Regions from separate parts of the Homo sapiens genome. Here region 2 is linked to region 1. Evidence: promoter capture Hi-C in 16 types of primary human blood cells and fetal thymus (Javierre and others, 2016). All regions are on one chromosome and are shown on one strand. Each heading gives the region's core, a stretch centred on a gene start or on the middle of the fragment in contact. The rest is flanking DNA. Distances are from core to core; before and after follow the strand shown.

Region 1 (3,622 bases), core at 550-3,049:
TTCCAAAGTGCTAGGATTACAGGCGTGAGCCAACGCGCCCAGCCAATTTTTTTTTTTTTTTTTTGAGACAGGGTCTTGCTCTGTCTCTCAGGCTGGTGTGCAGTGGCACGATCACCCTCATGGCAGCCTCAAATTCTGGGCTCAAGCGGTTCTCCTGCCTCAGCCTCCCGAAGACCTGGGACTACAGATGTGGGCCACTACTCCTGATTAACTTTTTTCACATAATAAATTAATTACATTTATTTTACAAAGAAATATTTCAAGCTACAACATTTGGTAAAATCAGAAAAGATGAAGAAAAAAGGTCCAAAGAGGGTGTGGGCTGGCGCGGTGGCTCACGCCTGTAATCCCAGCACTTTGGGAGGCCAAGGCCGGCGGATCACGAGGTCAGGTGATCGAGACCATCCTGGCTAACACGGTGAAACCCCGTCTCCACTAAAAATACAAAAAATTAGCCAGGCGTGGTGGCGGGCGCCTGTAGTCCAGCTACTCAGGAGGCTGAGGCAGGAGAATGGCGTGAACCCGGGAGGCAGAGCTTGCAGTGAGCCGAGATTGTGCCACTGCACCCCAGCCTGGGCAACAGAGCAAGACTCCGTCTCAAAAAAAAAAAAAAAAAAAAAAAAAAGAGGGTGTGAATGGGAGAAATTGGTTGAGGTGAAATCGACCTTCACCAAGACAGGTGGGAAAAAGGGAAGGTCTACTTGGTGTGCCCCCTGGACCCTCTCTTCCCTTCATTTAGCACTGTCACTTTCCAGGGCATGGGATGGTAGGCAGCAGCAGTTCTGGATAATGGATTTGTGGAAGAGAAGAATCCATCTAAAGCACTCTTTAGCCACAGCCCATGATCACTTTTTTTAAAAAATTTTTATTTTTTGCTTTGCTGTTGTTCCACTCTGTCCATACATTGTTTAATACAGGATGGCACACAATACCATTCCTGGTTAAATGTTTCACTTAACAAGCGCCACCCTCTACTCCTCCAACTCCTGTCTCAGGTTTGACAGCTATTTTTTTAACCTAATTTGCGCACGCCAAGAGGATTTCACCTAGTAACTACACGGAGAGACATCCGATGCGTACAAAGACGTGGCATGAAACGCTGCAGGTTTATTGTCTCTATAAAAAGATCGTTAAGGTCGAGCGTGCTAACGTGTGCGGTACTAACTGTACTCACTACGCCCTGGTCACTTTATAGCACAAGTCCGAGGCAAGGAAAGAAGTTTTACAAACAAAACTGGTCAACTGTTCTATCTTCTTACTCCTGGAAAACAATAAAGGTCCACTTTCAAACCATTTGGACGCACTTGCTCCTTCTAAAGGGTTAGGGAGTCCCGGCAGATAGCGTACCCCTCCCCGCCCAGCAGCAGAGAGCAAAGTCCTTCCTGCCGATCCTGCAGACCCCGGAGTCCAAATGGGACCCCGTCCACACGACCGCGGAGTCGCCTCCGAAGACGGCGGTGTCTGGGGCGTGGAGGGCACGGCTGGAGGCTGAGTGGGGTCCACCTTCGCGTGGCCCAGGCTCTTCCATTCACGGGGGGCCCCGCCAGGTTCAGGCTCCAGCCCTGGGTAGTGAAGGGGAAACGGGGAACGGAAGGAGGGAGGGCACGTCACGGGAGCAGGACTGCAGGACCGCGGGTCAGGGGGCGCAGGAACGCCAAAGAAAAGACAAGCACCGAGGGCCGGGAAGGGTGTAGGCTGCAGTGGCAGCGGATCCCCGGCCGCCGCTTCCGGCGCCTCCCGGCCCAGCTCTCCCGCGCCGACTCTGCCACATCCTCCGGTGACGTCAGCCGGGGCCGCCATATTGGAAAGGCGCCGCCGCCGCCTCCGCCTTGGAGCTCGGGGTGTTTCGGGGACTGCGGCCACAGGCAGGAAGGCGCTCCTCTCCTGCCCCGCCGACGCCCGGCCAGCCCGCTTCGCCCTGACCTGTTTCCTCATGACTGCCCCCGGCCCTGCTGCCGACGGACGTCGCCCCGGCGTCCGGATTTAACACGGAAACCCGGATCGGAGGCCGCGCGGGGAGGAGGAGGGCGACCCGGTCGGTCCTGCGACCCTCTCGGCCCGGCTCGGCGCCTCGGCGGGAGCCATGACCTCGCTGACCCAGCGCAGCTCCGGCCTGGTGCAGCGGCGCACCGAGGCCTCCCGCAACGCCGCCGACAAGGAGCGGGCGGCGGGCGGCGGCGCCGGCAGCAGCGAGGACGACGCGCAGAGCCGCCGCGACGAGCAGGACGACGACGACAAGGGCGACTCCAAGGAAACGCGGCTGACCCTGATGGAGGAAGTGCTCCTGCTGGGCCTCAAGGACCGCGAGGTGCGGGCGCGGCGGGCTGGGCGGGGGGCGGCGGCGCGGGGCCCGGGCGCCAGGTGAGCTCCAGGTAGGTGCCAGGTGAGCGCCCGAGGCTTCCGGCCCGCGCACCTGCCCTCGCTCCGAAGTCCGCGCCTGGTGGCGCCCAGCTGACGCCGAGCGGTGTCGGAGTTGGTTGACCCCCTGGCGCGGCTGGTGCTTTCTGGATCCTCCCCGTAGAGATGGCTTGGATTTTTCCTTACCCCTTTCACAGTCGCTCCTTTCATTTCGACACCCTGGCAGTTTGTATTTCTTCGTCGCCTTTTTTCCGCGTTTTTAACCCGTGTAGACCCCAGGGTGCAAATCCAACCCGGAGACTGCCCGGGAAACTAACAGCTGGAGCCACCAGCGCCACGAACTCTTTGGGTTTTTGCAGGCTTTAGGACCTGGGAGGGGTGCCCGGATCTGCTTGCTGGGGATGTTTTTTTTTTCTTCTTCTTCAGTTAAAGCTTACTGTTGGGAATTACGAAAAACGTAGGCGAAGTGGTAATAGAGGGAAAAGCTCTTTTACTGAGTAAAGTTAAGTTAAGTTTCTCATGAAACCTCCTGGTAAATGACTTTCTAGGTGAACTTACATTAGGTGAGAGATTATTTTTAGTATCGCTTTTATATTTTATCAGTTGATGAATCTCAAAGTCTTGCCGTCTTAAGAAAGGGCTTTTTCATCGAGTGCTTGAAATGTAGGTTTGTGAGTTGATCAGAGGCCTCAAAGCTTCAGGTGGGTTGAAGTTGCAATAGATAATTCTTTGTATTCTGACTTTGAAAGCGTTTATTTTCACTTCAGTGTCCAAAATTTTCACACACAGAAAAGTTGAAAAAGTGATAGATACATATGCATATATACTCTTTCTAGATTCTATGACGTTTTGCTGTATTTGTTATATTTGCCTACAAAAATGATTATTTATTTATGTGGAGACGGAGTTTCGCTCTTGTTGCCCAGGCTGGAGTGCAATGCCGCGATCTCGGCTTACCGAAATCTCCGCCTCCCGGGTTCAAGCGATTCTCCTGCCTCAGCCTCCTGAGGCAGGCATGCGCCACCATGCCCGGCTAATTTTGTGTTTTTGTTTTGTTTTGTTTTTGAGACGGAGCCTCAGTTTGTCGCCCAGGCTGGAGTGCAGTGGCGCGATCTCCACTCACTGCAAACTCCGCCTCCCGGGTTCAAGCGATTTTCCTGCCTCAGCCTCCCGAGTAGCCGGGACTACAGACGTGCGCCGCCATGCCCAGCTAATTTTCATACCTTTAGTAGAGACGGGGTTTCACCATGTTGGCCAGGATGGT
Region 2 (3,622 bases), core at 644-3,143, 400 kb before region 1:
AATCGGTAAATAATTTCTCTCCAACGAGTTTTTAATTTATTCGCTAAAAGAACTTCAACTGTTATAATTGTTAAGCAAATTCCTCAACAATTCTGCTTTCTTATGCCCTGCTGGTTTAGTTTTCTGCTCTTTCTTGTTTTAGCCCTTGCTCTAAATTTTCCTTTAAAGAAACTTCTAGAGACATCTACCACATTAGATTCTGCTGAAATATGTTATCAGGTTAGTAATTTATTTTCTCTAAAGACCTGGAGCTTTTTTTTCAAATGAGATATTTCCTCTATGAATTCGAACTGTTACTCTGGAGGATAGTTTTCTTTTTTCTGTCTTCTATTTTTTGTTTTGTTTGCTTTGGTTTGGTTGGTTGGTTGGTGGTTTTTTGTTTTGTTTTGTTTTTCTTTTTTAGTCTGAGTCTTTCTCTGTCGCCCATGCTGGAGTGCATGCAGCAGTGTGATCTTGGCTCACTGCAACCTCTGCCTCCCCAGTTCAAGTGATTCTCCTGCCTCAGCCTCCCAAGTACCTGGGATTACAGGCACCTGCCACCACGCCTGGCTAATTTTTTTTTTTTTTTTGTATTTTTAGTAGAGATGGGGTTTCACCATGTTGGCCAGGCTGGTCTCGAACTCCTGACCTCAGGTGATCTGCCCGCCTTGGCCTCCCAAAGTGCTGGGATTACAGGCGTGAGCCACTGCGCCCAGCCATTTTTGTTTGTTTGTTTTCTTATTTACCAGGGATGCTGTTAAATAGGATAGTTTTCTAATAAAACTTGCCCATTTTAAACAATCTATATGAATTCACATTTCTTTAGGTCATTTATGTAATTTTTATTAATTCTTCAGTATTCTGACTAGGAGCTCACCTATAAAGCCAAATTAGAAGCCTTAATTCAATAGTGTAAATATCTTTGTGTCAATTCCACACAGAAAGCAGAGATTTTGTCCTCATAACATGTTATCAAGGAGTTAATGCTAAATCCAAGCAGAACCCGAGATGTGCAGAAAGGATGCTGCTATCCATGGTGATTTAAGGAGAAAGCAGGTAGAACTAGTAAATGTGTCTCAAAAGTGATTCTCCAAGAGGGACTGGGAGAGTCTTGCCTTGTGAAAAGACACTTAGAGAATGCATAGCCAGATCTCTGGGTCCTTTGGTGCAAAGTCCACTGGGCATTTACACTTCTGATTTAGAAAATCAATCAACTGCCAAACTTATCTACTATGTGCGATCACTGAGCTTGACTTTAGGAACAAAGAAATCCAAGGGGGAGTTGGCAGCATCTTCAGAGCACCTCCTATATTCCGGGCACTTATGCATGTCATCTCATTGTATTCACATTAAGCCTGGGAGAGAGGTGTTTTATTCCATTATAGAAAGGAAGAAACTGTACTCAGATTGGTGAAGGGAGTTACCTGAGTTAGTTGGTTGAATTGTAACCCCCCTCAAAAAATCTACCCAAGTCCTAACCCCAGTACCTGTGATTGTGACTACATTTGAAAATAGGGTCTTTGCAGATGTAATCACATTATGACAAAGTCATACTAAATTAGGATGGGCTTCAAATACAGTGACCTGTGTCTTTACCAGAGAAAGCAGAAAGACACTTGGATGCATCTTACAAGCCGAGGAACACCAAGGATTGCGGGCAGGCACCAGAAACTAGGCAGAGGCAAGGGAGGACTCTTCCCTAAAGCTTTCAGGAGGAGCATGGCCCTCCCGTTGCCTTGATTTTCGACTTCTACCCTCCAGAACTTTAAGATAATAAATTTCTGTTGATTGATTGATTGATTTTTTGAGACAGAATCTTGTTCTAGTCGCCCAGGCTGGAGTTCAGTGGCATGATCTCGCCTCACTGCAATCTCTGCCTCCTAGGTTCAAGCAGTCAGTTCTCCTGTCAGCCTCACAAGTAGCTGGGATTACAGGCGTCTGCCACCACACTTGGCTAATTTTTGCATTTTTAGTAGAGACAGGGTTTTACCATGTTGGCCAGGCTGGTCTCAAACTCCTGACCTCAAGTGATCCACCTACCTCAGCCTCCCAAAGTGCTGGAATTACAGGCATGAGCCACCATGCCTGGCCAAATTTCTGTTGATTTAAACTACGAAGCTTGTGACAATTTATTACAGTCTTAGGACACAAAGATACCAGTGTCACACAGCGGCTAAGTAGCAGTGCTGGAATTTGATCCCAGTTGTTTGCTTTGCAAATACCAAACATAACCCATATACCATGATATCAAGGGGGGATTTTGTTGCCACATGATTTCTGAACCTATTCAAGGCTGTCCTAGACATTATGAGCCAAGGAGAAGTGGTAAACTGCCTGAATTCAACCTAAGAGTTACAGATGCCCAAGCTGCATTCTCTCAGAGAACTGATACATGGGGAGCTGCATAGAGGCATGGAAAGGTTGCTAAAGAGCTGGGTCCAGAGACCTACAGTGATATTGACCATAACAGGGCAAGGGCAAGTCATTTTACCTCCCTGGGTCTCAGTTTCCTGTTCCCATCAGAGGTCAGGTTAAATATTCCATGGGATCCCAGACAACTGTGTAACCAGTTGGCTGGCCCACCCCAGACCTTTTTAAAAAACTTTTTGGACAGGCGCAGTGGCTCATGCCTGTAATCCCAGCACTTTGGGAGGCCGAGGTGGGTGGATCACAAGATCAGGAGTTCCAGACCAGCCTGCCCAACATAGTGAAACCCCATCTCCACTAAAAAAATATAAAAATTAGCCGGGCATGGTGGTGTGTGCCTGTAATCCCAGCTACTTGGGAGGCTGAGGCAGGAGAATTGCTTGAATCCGGGAGGCAGAGGTTGCAGTGAGTTGAGATCGCACTACTACACTCCAGCCTAGGCAACAGAGCAAGTCTCCGTCTCAAAAAAAAAAAAAATTCAATAGCTGTAAGGGTTCAGTGGTTTTTGGCTACACAGATGAATTGTATAGTGGTGAAGTCTGAGCTTTTAGTGTACCTGTCACCTGAATAATGTACATTGAACCCAATAGTGAAACATTTTAATTTCTACTTTTCTTTCTTTCTTTGGTCAGTAAGTTTTATTTTAATTTTTTTTTAATGTTTTGCCATTGGATTAGTTACATCTCCATTTAAATGTTTCTTCTTGTATCTATTCATTTTCAGGCATTAGAAGTTAAAATAATGGAAATAGGGCTGGGAATGGTGGCTCATGCCTGTAATCCCAGCACTTTGGGAGGCAGAGGAGAGTGGATCACTTGAGCCCAGGAGTTTGAGACCAGCCTGAGCAACAAAGTGAAACCCCCATCTCTACAAAAAATAGAAAAATTAGCCGGCCATGGTGGCATGTGCTTGTAGTCCCAACTACTCGGGAGGCTGAGGTGGGAGGATGACTTGAGCCAAGGAGGTCAAGGCCTGCAGTGAGCTGTAATTGCTCCACTGGCCAGCCTGGGCAACAGAGTGAGACCCTGTCTCAAAAAAAAAAAAAGAAAAAAGAAAGAAAAAAAAAAGGTAATATATTTCAGTGAAGTGCACAGTATTTCTTTCTCCTTCTTGACAGCGGCTCACACTTTTAATGAAGGACCCAAGCCAGCACAGTGCTCTCGTAGCCACAGCAGGTGTAAAAGAGAAGTTGACTGTTTCAAAGATAAAAACGATG

The links. Contacts are between HindIII fragments. The CHiCAGO score rates a contact against its expected background, and 5 or more counts as called.
Region 2: a fragment that was not itself captured here is called in contact with the fragment with the promoter of GOLPH3 in region 1 in 2 of 17 cell types (naive CD8 T cells and total CD8 T cells); the score reaches 5.5 in naive CD8 T cells.

What each region holds. Positions count from the first base shown.
Region 1 is chr5:32,172,496-32,176,117 of GRCh38, reverse strand. It overlaps GOLPH3 (golgi phosphoprotein 3), which reads left to right and starts at 1,799. Exons shown (of 4, transcript NM_022130.4): 1 at 1,799-2,308. The coding sequence starts at 2,084. RefSeq lists a silencer at 1,906-2,515. The HindIII fragment of the contact is 5,568 bases long and covers 1-2,792 here.
Region 2 is chr5:32,573,403-32,577,024 of GRCh38, reverse strand. No RefSeq gene overlaps it. Among named protein-coding and RNA genes, the nearest start is that of SUB1, 10 kb to the left of the region's middle. RefSeq lists a silencer at 329-499 and an enhancer at 3,425-3,484. The HindIII fragment of the contact is 413 bases long and covers 1,687-2,099 here.